4 separate regions of the Homo sapiens genome follow, and regions 2, 3 and 4 are each linked to region 1. Evidence: promoter capture Hi-C in human tissues and cell types (Jung and others, 2019). All regions are on one chromosome and are shown on one strand. Each heading gives the region's core, a stretch centred on a gene start or on the middle of the fragment in contact. The rest is flanking DNA. Distances are from core to core; before and after follow the strand shown. Region 1 holds the start of ATP8B3 (ATPase phospholipid transporting 8B3). Region 2 holds the start of DAZAP1 (DAZ associated protein 1). Region 3 holds the start of RPS15 (ribosomal protein S15). Region 4 overlaps PEAK3 (PEAK family member 3).

Evidence for each region. The method cuts DNA at HindIII sites, captures the fragments that hold promoters and counts their contacts. A contact is called where the count stands out against the background at its distance.
Region 2: the fragment with the promoter of DAZAP1 here is called in contact with the fragment with the promoter of ATP8B3 in region 1 in 1 of the 25 tissues and cell types used here (lymphoblastoid cells).
Region 3: a contact is called between the fragment with the promoter of RPS15 here and the fragment with the promoter of ATP8B3 in region 1, in 3 of the 25 tissues and cell types used here (aorta, dorsolateral prefrontal cortex and lymphoblastoid cells).
Region 4: a fragment that was not itself captured here is called in contact with the fragment with the promoter of ATP8B3 in region 1 in 1 of the 25 tissues and cell types used here (spleen).

The regions. Positions count from the first base shown.
Region 1 is chr19:1,810,970-1,813,874 of GRCh38, reverse strand. ATP8B3 (ATPase phospholipid transporting 8B3) reads left to right here and starts at 1,599. Exons shown (of 29, transcript NM_138813.4): 1 at 1,599-1,689; 2 at 1,991-2,386. The coding sequence starts at 2,139. RefSeq lists enhancers at 806-965, 1,346-2,091 and a silencer at 1,516-1,885. The HindIII fragment of the contact is 30,703 bases long and covers 1-2,905 here.
Region 2 is chr19:1,406,179-1,409,213 of GRCh38, reverse strand. DAZAP1 (DAZ associated protein 1) reads right to left here and starts at 1,628. Exons shown (of 12, transcript NM_018959.4): 1 at 1,412-1,628. The coding sequence starts at 1,440. RefSeq lists silencers at 725-824, 1,205-1,414, 1,555-1,784. The HindIII fragment of the contact is 8,178 bases long and covers 1-3,035 here.
Region 3 is chr19:1,436,373-1,439,645 of GRCh38, reverse strand. RPS15 (ribosomal protein S15) reads right to left here and starts at 1,250. Exons shown (of 4, transcript NM_001018.5): 1 at 1,218-1,250; 2 at 754-839. The coding sequence starts at 1,220. RefSeq lists enhancers at 1,007-1,226, 635-1,505. The HindIII fragment of the contact is 20,902 bases long and covers 1-3,273 here.
Region 4 is chr19:2,276,770-2,279,714 of GRCh38, reverse strand. It overlaps PEAK3 (PEAK family member 3), which reads left to right. Exons shown (of 4, transcript NM_198532.3): 3 at 602-1,131. Among named protein-coding and RNA genes, the nearest start is that of PEAK3, 3.9 kb to the left of the region's middle. The HindIII fragment of the contact is 7,382 bases long and covers 1-2,945 here.

The DNA of each region.
Region 1 (2,905 bases), core at 350-2,849:
GAATCTGGTCCTCACAGCTGCACCCAACCAGGTCTCTTCTAAAGTTTATTAGAACAGTGTGTTCAAACTCCCAGCCCCGGCTTTTTTTCGTAACCACTGAGCAAGCAAGCAAGCACAGGGGAAGTGTTGAAGGAATGAAAGGAGAGAAGTCAAACACAGTGGCCTGCCTGCCTGCTTGTGGTCCCAGCTACTCTGGAGGCTGAGGCAGGAGGATCGCTTGAGCCCAGGAGGTGGAGGCTGCAGTGAGCTCTGATCGCACCACTGCACTCCAGCCCGGGTGACACAGTGAGACTCTGTCTCCAAAAAAAGAGAGGTTCCCTGGCAGCCTCCAGGGCCAAGCAGGCTTCCAATTTGGGCTTCCAAAGAAAGAGGGTTTGTGATCACCGAGAGCCCTCAGGTGGTTGCCGCTTTGATGGGGGAGGTGGCTTCCCTATCCCCCTCCACCCATGTTTGCCTCTCCCTTTGGGCCCTCACCCCAGGTAGCCTCACTCTTGGGGGCATTTCATCTTCAGCAGCCCCTCCGCACACACTTTCTGACCCTGGCTCCAGGCCCTATCGCTGGCCTGGACCCGCCCTAGCCTCGTCGCTGAACTCACCCCTGCCACTTCTTCAGTAAGGATCCCTGAGCCCCTGCCACCTGCTGGAAAGAACCCTGCGGGCTTCCTCTTGGCCTTAGGGTGGTCTCAATGGCTATAACCGCCTCTCCCCAGCCTGGTGCTCAGCCCTGCATCTGCGCCTAGGAGGCGCTCGTTGAACGTGTATGGGATGAATGAACGAACCCAGGACACGGATCAGACATGACTTACATAACCGCCGTTACCTGTGGTCCTTCCTCCTGCACTCTGCCACGCTGGCCGCACCAGCCTCAGCCCCGTCAGGTCTGCAAGGCCCATTCCGACCTGACCCAGGCCCACCTTTCCAAGAACCCTTCCAACCCCGCCCTGCGGTGCAGGTTCTTTCTGCTCCCTGACCAAGCCCGGCCCGGCCCTGCCCTGACACCCTCTTCCCTTTCAGGCTCCGCCCCTGCACTGGCACTGCTCCCTAAGGCCCTCCCAAGGCCCTGCCTTCTGTCCTGGACCCACCCTGAGCGCCCTCCTACCCTGACCCTGCTCTGCGCGGCCCCGCCTTCCTCCTTTGTAACGGCTCCGGATCCCAGCCCCGCCCCTACCATAACACTGCTCCGCAAGGCCATGCTCAACCCCGCTTCCCGCTCTGGCCAAGCCCCTGAGTCCTGGCCCCGCCCCTACTCTGACTTTGCTCAGCGAGACCCCGCTCGTCCTCGCCTTCCTTCTAGTCCCTTCCCCAAAGTCCCGGCCCCTCCCCAGACCCAGGCACTGCTCCCGAGCGTCTTCTATCCCGGCCTGTTCTGCGAGGCTCTGCGAGGCCCCGCCCTTCGGCCGTGACCGCGTCCCTGAGGCCTGGCCCCCATCCTGCTCGGCCGTGCTCCGCTCGGCCCCACCCTCGAGGCCCCGCCCCTTCTTCGCCTTGGCCCCACCCACCCCCTCCAGGCCCCGCCCCCGGCCCCCTTCCGGGGTCCGAACTGGCTCCACCTTCGCCTTGGCCGGGCCCCGAGGCCCCGCCCCGAGATCCCGCCCCCCGTTTCAGGACCGTTGGCACCGGGCTAACGGTTCCACCACGTCCGCCGCCCTGGACGCCCGCGGCCTGCCCCCCCCTGCCTCTCCTGCGCCGGTGAGCGGCGGGTGCTCCCACTGCTGTGCGTCCCCGGGAGCCCGCGCACCCTCTCTGGGCTCCACCCAGGCTGAGAGCTGGGGTCGTGGCGGCGGGGGTGGAGAGCGCGCCCCTAGAGGTTCGCGCGGTCGGGGCCCCGGGGCGGGTGCAGACAGCCCTGGACTCTGGAGCCCTGTCCAGGGCGGTCCTGTGCCCCTGCGGCTGCGGGAAGACGGGGTGGGGGGCTTCCGAGTAATGGGGCATCCCAGTTAGTGAGGGGGCAGGAAGCCAGCGCTGTGTCCGTGTCTCTTTCTGCCCCCAGATACACTTCGAGTGGATTCTGGCCATTTGAGCATTCTCTCCAACTCTCCAATCCCCAGTCTGCCCCCACGGGGGTCTCCCCCACCTCTCCCCCGTCCCACAGCCTAAACCCCTCTTCGCCCTGAACCTCCCTTTTCCTCATGCGGTGAATGGGCACTGGCCCCGCTCAGACTCCCAGGAGCACCAGAGCTGGCCCTGAGCCAAGCCCTGCCCCACCAGGACCTGGGGACACGGGTGACTCAGACGTGACTCAGGAAGGCTCAGGTCCTGCTGGCATCCGCGGAGGTGAGACGGTGATCAGAGCTGGGATGGGAGACTCCCCAGGCAGAGGGGCACCTGAGAGGAGGCACAAGGCCCAGCCTGGCCGGGCTAGGAAGTATGAATGGAGACCAGAAGGGTGAGGACGGGTGCATCGGGTGGCCGGAACACAGGGGCAGGGGCTTGGCGGGGAGGGCACTGCTAGAGAGCTGGCAGGTGGGGGGCCAGTTGCTGGCGTCTAGGGGTGGTTTGCCCATCCTCATAGGGGGCCAAACCAGGGCCCCCGGTGCAGGGCTAGAGCCAGACCCACATTCCTGAACCTGCTAGTGGAGAAGATTCCAGGATCTTCTGACGATGTCCGTCTGCCTCCATCGCCCCCATCAGAGTTTGCTGCCCAGCCTGGGGGGGTGAGGAGGGGAGTGGCCATGCCTGACCCTCATGCTGTGTTTTGAGATATAACATATAGCCCGGGGGTCCCATTCAGTCAGTGAACAGATGACTGAGCCCCTAAGCTGGTGCCACATGGGGAGAGGGGCAGGAGGCCGTCAGTGAAACCAGGAGGAGGTGAGAGTGGTCCTTTCAGGAAAAGCGAGGTGTGGGGAGCAGTGGCCGGAGGCTGGCATGGCCAGAGGCTGGCATGGCTGGCGGTAGAGTCCTT
Region 2 (3,035 bases), core at 379-2,878, 400 kb after region 1:
CCATCCCTGCAATGTCCCTCACACAGGCACACGGACCCTGCCAAGTCAAAGTGCCTGGAGAGGACTCACAGCACGGGCTAGGCAGGGGCTAAGTGCTTTCATCCTGGTTCTCCAACGGAAGGTGCTCTTTTGTTTTGTCTGGGGAGGGGGAGAGCCCACAAAAGGCATTTCCCATCCACAAGTGTGACCTGTAGCTGGTGCGAGAGGCGCCTGCCAAGGCAACCCTCTAGCAGCAACCGCTCCCGCACTAGCCAAGCCCAGCGCTGAGAACACAGGGCGCTGCTCAAAGCTAAGGGCACCGAGAAATTTACACCAGACCACTAGGAAACCCAACCCAGACTGTTTTGCCGGAAGAATGCAACTCTAAAACGACGTCGCTGCGGCAGGAGCCGCTCCTACCAAAGAATGGCGCCGAGCCCTGGGGCACAGCGAAATGAGGTTTCCCGGCCCCGCGGGGTCCGGAGCAGGTCAGGCTCCTATAGGAGGGGACGCCTCGGCGCAGCAAAGATCCGCGGGCCCGTCGCCGCCTCGGAAGCGCTGACTCTCCCTTCCGCAGCTCAAGCCCACCCCCGGCGGGGAGGCGCCGAGGCAACGTAAACACAGCAGGCCCCGGCTGACCCGAGCCCCCTGGGCCCTGGGTTTGCGAACCCCTCCCGACCTTACCACTTTGGGGGGGTGGGATGGGAGCGGGGAGCCCGGAGCCCCGAGTGGGATAGGTTGGGCGGTGGCAGAACCGGAACCCTCGCCTCGGCTCGCCACGTGCGCCGCCCGCCAAGTTTGGGCGCGCGCTGGGGGCGCCCCGGACCACCCCCCACGCCACAGTTTGGGGTCCCCCTGGCCAGGAAGCCGGGAGGCGGCGGCGACGGCGCCCTGGACTCCCCGCAGACTCCCTCAGGTTCTCATTCGGGGTCCCCCAGGCCAGGAAGCCCTACAGGCGGCAACGGGGACGCTCCAGACCCCCCCAAGTTCCCGTTCGGGGCCGCCACAACCAGGAAGCGGCGGCGGGGGCCCCTGAACCCCTCTGGCTCCCATTCGGGGTCCCTCAGGACGCGCAGTCGGGAAGCGGCGGCACGGGCGCCCCAGGACACCCCCCCAGGTTGCCGTTCGGGGTTCCCCCGACCAGGAAGTCTGGAGGCGGCGGCGGGGCCCCCCGGACCCCTCAGGCTCTCCTTCAGGATCCCCCAGGACGGGAAGCCGGGAAGCGGCGGCGGGGGCGCCAGGACCCCCCCAGACCCCGGGCACCCGTCCAGGGCCCCCGGCGCGAAGCCGCGGCGAGTCCGGGTCCCGAGTCCGCCCCCGGCCGGCGTGACCTTGACGGGGCGGCCCCGGGGGGCGGCGTCTGAGGCCGGGCGGCGGGGAGCGGCGGGCCGGGCTCGGGGCGGAGACGCAGGCCCGCGCCGCTCGTCCTCACCCGATCTCGTCGGCGCCCGAGTTGTTCATGGCGGCGGCGGCGGCGACGCTCGGCGCTCCCGGGCCTCCTCGCTCGCTCCCGCCTCCGGAAGGTCACCCGCTCCGTCGCCCTCCCCACAGCCGCGGCCCGGATCTGCGCAACGGCGGCGGCGGCGGCGGCGGCGGCGGCGGCGGCGGCGGCGGCTGCCTCCTCCCCTCGGCGCCAACGGTCACCGCGCGTCCCCGCGCCGCCGCGCCGCCGCCCCTGCGCACGCCCGGGCGCGCTCCCGCACGGGGTCTCCGGGGGCGGGTCCAGGGGTACTCCGTCTGTGCGTGCGTCCCTGAGGCGGATTTCGCGCCGCCGCAGTCGGGGCCGTCGCGCGTTTTCCTTTCTCCTCGGAGGCTCCTGGCGTTGCCGCGGGGCACGCTGGGAAATGGAGTCCCTGCGCTGGCCCCGCCCCTGCAAGGGGAGGATGCGCGCGGGCCGAGCCACGTGCGTGCGTGCGCGCGCGTGCGGGCTTGCGTGCGCGTGCGCGCTTGCGAGACCGGCGCTCCGGGCTAGGCACTGTGGGCGCAGGCGCGGCTGCCGCTTCCTCTTTAACTCTTCACTCGGAAGCGGTGGAGCCGCGTGGGGCGCTGCGGGGAGTGGGAGTGTACCCGCCCGCACCCCAGGCGGGCGGACGGAGCGGGAACGGCACGTGAGCGTCCCGCGCGAGGCTCCTTCCCCTGTCCGCATTTCACAGAAGAGGATCCCGAGGGTCCGAGAGGCTGAGTCACTTGGCCAAGGTCACCCAGTTCGGGGCTGAACTGGAATCAAATCAAAACAATTAACTAAATTCAATGACTATGAAAAGATATTATTGACCCCCCCCCCAAGTGCTATTACTATTAATAGCCAAATACTGTTTTAGTTGCATCTGTTAATTGCATACATCAGTGGTTCTTCTTCTGGGTGACTTTGCCCCCTAGGGGATAACTTGGCAATGTCTGAAAACACGGTTTTGGTTGTCACAACTTGAGTGCGGGGTGCTGCTGGCATCGAGTGGGTCCAGACCAGACATGCCGCTCAGCACCCTGCAGTGCACACGACGACCCCCCAAAAAGAATGATACCCGTCCTCCAATGTCAGCAGAAGGAGGTGGAAAAACCGGTCTAGGCTGACGGTAGTAAACAGGTGACCCGCAGGGTTTTGTAAAACCGGGTACGTGCTGCCTACTGCTTTTCTCCTTAATCTCACAGCACATTGACAGCCTGATCGTTTGGTTTATTCATCATCACAGAATTAAATAAATACAAGGAACAAGGCCGGGTGAGGTGGCGCACGCCTATAATCCCAACACTTTGGGAGGCCGAGGATCAATTTAGGTCAGGAGATCGAGACCAGCCTAGCCAACATATATAGTGAAACCCCGTCTCTACTAAAAATACAAAAGAAAATTAGCCGGGCGTGGTGGTGGGCGCCTGTAATCCCAGCTACTCGGGAAGCTAAGGCCGGAGAAATGCTTGAAGGCAGGAAGTAGAGGTTGCAGTGAGCCGAGATCGCGCCACTGCACACCAACCTGGGCAACAGAGCAAGACTCCCTCTTAGAAAAAAAAGGGCCGAGCATGGTGGCTCACTCCTGGAATCCCAGCAGTTTGGGAGGCCA
Region 3 (3,273 bases), core at 1-2,500, 370 kb after region 1:
AGGCGGGAGGGTCGCTTGAGCCCAGGAGTTCAAGACCAACCTGGACGACACAGAGAAACGCTGTTTCCACAAATAATCAAAAATCAAGGTCGGGCGCGGTGTTCACGCCTGTAATCCCAGCACTTTGGGAGGCCGAGGCAGGTGGATCACCTGAGGTCAGGAGTTTGAGACCAGCCTGGGCAACACTGAAACTCGTCTCTACTAAAAATACAAAAATTAGCCGGACGTGGTGGGGGGGCCCTCTAATCCCAGCTACTCGAGAGGCTGAGGCAAGAGAATCGCTTGAACCCGGGAGTGGGAGGCTGCAGTGAGCTGGGACGGAGCCATTGCACTCCAGCCTGGGCGACAGGATGAGACTCCGCCTCAAAATAATCAAAAATTAAAAAATAAAAGCGCAAGCCAGATGCCCACCACCACCCTGCCTGGAAAGGACCCAGCGACCTCCACCGCCCTTAAAATCTAAGGAGTCTAACGCAGCCCCTTATTCTAAGTCACGTGGGCTACAGACAGGGGCTACACCTTCCAACTAAGCCGCGGAAAAGTGAACAACGGGGGGCAGGTTGCAAATAAGCAAAAACCTCAACGTCTCTGGACAGTTTTCTGGGCGCAAGACCACACTCAGTTCCAAACCCGCGCGGAGACCGTGCCCGCCCACCGCCGCAGAGGCGCTTGGACCCCCGCCCCGCCGCCCTCACCCGGACAAGCCCCACCGCTGGCCCAGCCCCTGCCCGCGACCCCCGCGGCCGCCCTTACTAGGACATGTCCAGCAGCTGGTCGAGGTCCACGCCGCGGTAGGTGAACTTGCGGAAGGTCCGCTTCTTCTTCTGCTCTACTTCTGCCTGTGCGGGCGCGGATCGGGCGTCAGCGGGATCCCGACACCCATCTCCCGGGGCCACCGGGCCCGAGGACACCGCGGAAGACGCGCGGCGCCGCCGGGGACAGAAGCCCGACAGGGACACACCGCTTCGACCCGTCCCCGGGGATCACTCGCGGCTCCGGGTTACGAGGACCCGGACATGAAGGCCCGGACAGGCCTTCCCAGCCCCGCGTCGTCCCGACACCCACCAAGTCCGCCCCTCGCCCCAACATCCAGCCGCCTGCAGGGTCGGGAGCAAGCCGCCGTAGCCGCGGGGACGAACTGCGGCCCCCGCGAGACGGTCAGAGGTTGGATGGAGCCGGATAGGCCCGGCAGAGACGCGCCAAATCGCAACACTCACCATCTTGCCGGATCCTCAGAAGAGATCGCTTTGGTCCGCGCCTGCGCAGTTATCGCGAGACTGCCGGCATGTCCCGCCCCCTCGGCCGTGCGCGCACACGCGCTTCCGCTTTCCCGGCGGCGAACACGCGCCCTCTGCCGTCTGGAGGGCAAAACACAGGCTGCAGGGATTAGAGCAGCCGCCGCCTGAGGTCTGCAGAGCCGCTTCCTCCACGGAGTGGGACTTTGGACAAGTCGCCGCCCCTGTCTGAGCCTCGGGTTCGTGCTCCGTCATCTACACGATGGCACCCACATCAACAAGTATTTATGGAGCGCCTACCGTTTGCTCGTAGGTGCGGTTTGGCGGTTCAGGTCCCACTGTGGGAGGAACACGAGAATTCATTACAGATACTGGAGCAGGGACAGGGCCTCGCTGAAAAGAACCATTCCGGCTTTAACAGATAAAATTTTGTATATAAAGTTAGTAAGGACAACACAGTGAGACTGCCTCTCTACAAAAAAATACAAAAATTTGTGTACACACGGACATAAAAGAATAAAAAGTACAAAAAATTCCCAGCTACTCGGGAGGCTGAGCCTTCAGCCCAGGAGGTCAAGGCTGCAGTGAGCCGTGATCGCGCCAACGGCACTCCAGCCTGGGCGACAGAGCAAGACCCTGCCTCAAAAATAAAGTTAGGAATATCACTGGGTTTGTTAAGATATGTAAATGTAATGTGAATAATGATAGCTCAAAGAGAAGGAGTAACTAGAACTATGTAGGAGTGACTTTTTTTTTTTTTTGAGACAGAGTTTCACTCTTGTTGCCCTGGCTGGAGTGCAGTGGTGTGATCTCGGCTCACTGCAACCTCTGCCTCCTGGGTTCAAGCGATTCTCCTGCCTCAGCCTCCCAAGTAGCTGGGATTACAGGCACCTGTTACCGTGCCCGGCTAATTTTGTATTTTTAGTAAAGACACGGTTTCTCCATGTTGGCCAGGCCATGTTGGTCTCGAACTCCTGACCTCAGGTGATCCACCCGCTTTGGCCTCCCAAAGTGCTGGGATTACAGGCGTGAGCCACCGCGCCTGGCCTAGGAGTGATGTTTCTGTATCTTACTGGAATTAAGTATAAAGTTGAAGGTGACTATTAACTATGGATGTGGCACCTGGCTGGGCGTGGTGGCTTATGCTTGTAATTCCAGCACTTTGGGAGGCCGAGGCGGGCGGATCACCTGAGGTCAAGAGTTCAAGACCAAGCTGACCAACCCTAACTCTACTAAAAATACAAAAAATTAGCCAGGCGTGGTGGTGGGTGCCTGTAATCCCAGCTCCTTGGGAGGCTGAGGCAGGAGAACCGCTTGAACCCGGGAGGCGGAGGTTGCAGTGAGCTGAGATCGCACCACTGCACTCCAGCCTGGGCGACAGAGACTCCTTCTCAAAAAAAAAAAAAAAAAAAAAAAAGAAAAAGAAAAAAAAAAAGCACAAAACCTCTGGGAACCCGAGCTTAGCTGTGGCACTGTCCAGGGAGCTGAGCTCTCCCCAGCCGTCCCCACAGTCCCAAGGGAAGCCAATTACACTGTACTCAGGGAGGGCTGAGTCTCCGTCCCGAGGAGCACAGGACCTATGTGTCGGGCCCGTCCATGTTACCCATTTTCCTGCAGCAGAGTGTCCTGGCTGGAAAGCTGATTTTGTGAGTGCTGCTCTTTGGCTGGGGGAGCTAATGTAACGGGAGGGGCTGACACTCAACACCATGATGACCTGTGGTGTGGATAGACAGCCGCCCCCGCCTGGCCCTCCTGGGAGCTGGGGCAGCAGCTCCTGAGGACATGGGAGAAGGCTCTGACGGCAGGGAATGGAGCTGGCTTCCTGGGCTGAGGCGTTGAGGGGTACTGTCTCAGTGAGGAAACTGCACTGCACAGGGATGTTGGGGGTACCCCTTCTCTTGGTTCTCTCCAAACTAAGTCAAACCTTCCCTGTCCCCAAAATATGAACTGGGGCGGGGGGGGGTGGTTCTGGCTGTCGCCTGAACAGTCTCACGCCTGGCACGCTGTAGGCTTCCAGTTTGGGACTTCATGGTCCTTT
Region 4 (2,945 bases), core at 201-2,700, 470 kb before region 1:
GCTGAGTGCTGGGTGGCATCACTCTCTGAAACTGATCCATCCTCCTATAAGCCTCAGTTTCCCCTTCTGTAAGCTCTGCCGCCCAGGCTGGAGTGCAGTGGCACAATCTCGGTTCACTGCAAGCTCCACTTCTCAAGTTCACACAATTTTCCTGCCTCAGCCTCCCGAGTAGCTGGGACCACAGGCGCCCACCACCAAGCCCGGCTAATTTTTTGTATTTTTAGTAAAGACGGGGTTTCACCGTGTTAGCCAGGATGGTCTCGATCTCCTGACCTCGTGATCCACCCATCTCGGCCTCCCAAAGTGCTGGAATTACAGGCATGAGCCATTGTGCATGGCCGCGTCCGGCAAATTTTTAAAAAATTTTTGCAGAGACAGGGTCTCACTATGTTGCCCAGGCTGGTCTCAAACCCTAGGTTCCAGTGATCCTCCTGCCTCGGCTTCCACCTTCCTAAGTGCTGGGATTACAAGCATGAGCCACCGGCGCCCAGCCTCATTACTTCCATGTTAGAGATGGGGAAACCGAGGCTGAGAGGTGGAGTCACGTGTCCCGTTCCCACTCCGCCTGTCCTCAACCCTCCCCCACTGTCTCTCCCTGCAGGTCAGATCCGTGCCCACCTGCTGCCCTCCAAGGCCTGCCGCCTCCGGACCCCTGGGTCCCTCTCCACCAACCCAGAGCCCCTGCCCCCACCCCTGCCCAAGAAGATCCTAACCCGGACCCAGTCACTGCCCACCCGCAGGACCCTCCATCCCAGCTCCATCCAAGTACAGCCGCCTCGGAGACCCTTTCTGGGGTCCCACAGTGTGGACAAGAGCCAGGCTGCAGTGGGACCAGCCTGTCTCCCTGCAGAGCTGACCTTTGGCCCGGCTGACGCCCCACTGGGCCTCTCCCTCCGCGATCTGCACAGCCCGGAGGCTGTGCACACTGCACTGGCTGCGCGGCAGCTGCAGGGCCTCCGTACCATCTATGCCCGGCTCCGTGCCCGGCTCATGGGGGGCCACCCCGGGCCCTGCCACCCCGGCCACAGCTTCCGCCTCCTAGACAGCTCACCCTGCGCAGAGAGCGGGGACGCCCTGTATTACCGCGTGGTGCGCGCGCACGAGGACGCCTGGCACATCCTGGTCGCCAAGGTGAGCCCCACAGCCCCACCCTCTCTGAGGTGTCCCCAGTGCCCCATCTTAGACATAACCCAGGGCTTGTTTCATTTGGCCTTTCTGTGAGTCAGTTCTCACACTGCTGTAAAGAAATACTGGAGCCGGGCGCGGTGGCTCACGCCTGTCATCCCAGCACTTTGGGAGGCCAAGGCGGGCGGATCAGCTGAGGTCAGGAGTTCAAGACCAGCCTGGCCAACATGGTGAAACCCAGCCTCTACTAAAAATACAAAAATTAGGTGTGGTGGCGGGCGCCTGTAAACCCAGCTACTTGGGAGACTGAGGCAGGAGAATTGCTTGAACCCGGGAGGCAGAGGTTGCAGTAAGCCAAGATTGGGCCATTGCACTCCAGCCTGGGCAACAGAGTGAGACTCCGTCTCAAAAAAAAAAAAAAGAAAAAGGCCGGGCACAGTGGCTCACACCTGTAATCCCAGCACTTTGGGAGGCCGAGGCGGGCAGATCACGAGGTCAGGAGATACAGACCATCCTGGCTAACACGGTGAAACCCTGTTTCTACTAAAAAGACAAAAAATTAGCCGGGCGTGGTGGTGGGCACCTGTAGTCCCAGCTATTTGGGAGGCTGAAGCAGGAGAATGGCATGAACCCAGGGGGCAGAGCTTGCGGTGAGCCGAGAACGCACCACTGCGCTCCAGCCTGGGCGACAGAGCGAGACTCCGTCTAAAAAAAAAAAAAAAGGCTGGGCAGCACAGTGGCTGACGCCTGTAATCTCAGCACTTTGGAAGGCCAAGGCGGGCAGATCATGAGGTCAGGAGTTCGAGACCAGCCTGGCCAACATAGTGAAACCCCCATCTCTACTAAAAATACAAAAATTAGCCGGGCGCGGTGGTGCGCACCTGAAGTCCCAGCTACTTGGAGGCTAAGGCAGGAGAATCACTTGAACCTGGGAGGCGGAGGTTGCAGTGAGCTGAGATTCGAAAATTGGGCTATTGCACTCCAGCCTGGGCGACAGAGTGAGACTCTGTCTCAAAAAAGAAAAACAAAAGAGAAGAAAAAAGAAAAGAAAAGAAAAAGGAATACTGGAGACTGGGTAATTTATAGAGAAAAGGGCCTTAATTGGCTCATGGTTCTGGTGGCTTCTGCTTCTGGGGAGGCCTCAGGAAGCTTCCAATCATAGTGGAAGGCGAGGCGGGAGCAGGCATCTCACACGGTGGGAGCAGGAGGAAGGGAGGGAGGAGGTGCTACTCACCTTTACACAGCCAGATCTCACGAGAACTCACTCGTTATCCCAACGACAGTGCCAAGGGAGATGGTGCTGAGCCATTCATGATAAACCACCCCCAAGATCCAAGTCGCCTCCCACCAGACCCCACCTCCAACACTGGGGAATGAGATTTGGTGGGGACACAGATCCAGACCATATTAGACTTGTTTATTTTGCAACTAACACGTGAATCAACGCAGTTAACCCAGGAAACCATGTTTCTAAAGTATGGGGCCATGGGTATGGCCTTGGAGCTCTTGTCAAAACCCCTCCCACACCTCTCTGGCCGGGGATCTGCTTTTGTGTTTTTTGTTTTGTTTTTTGTTTTTGAGACAGAGTCTCACTCTGTTGCCCAGGCTGGAGTGCAGTGGCGCGTTCTCGGCTCACTGCAACCTCCACCTCCCGGGCTCAAGCGATTCTCTCACCTCAGCCTCCGAAGTAGCTGGGATGACAGGCGCGCCACCACGCCCAGCTAGTTTTGCATTTTTTAGTAGAGACGAGCGTTCCCTGCGTTGGCCAGGCTGGTCTCGAACTCCTGACCTCAGCGATCCCCCTGCCTCCCAAAGTGCTG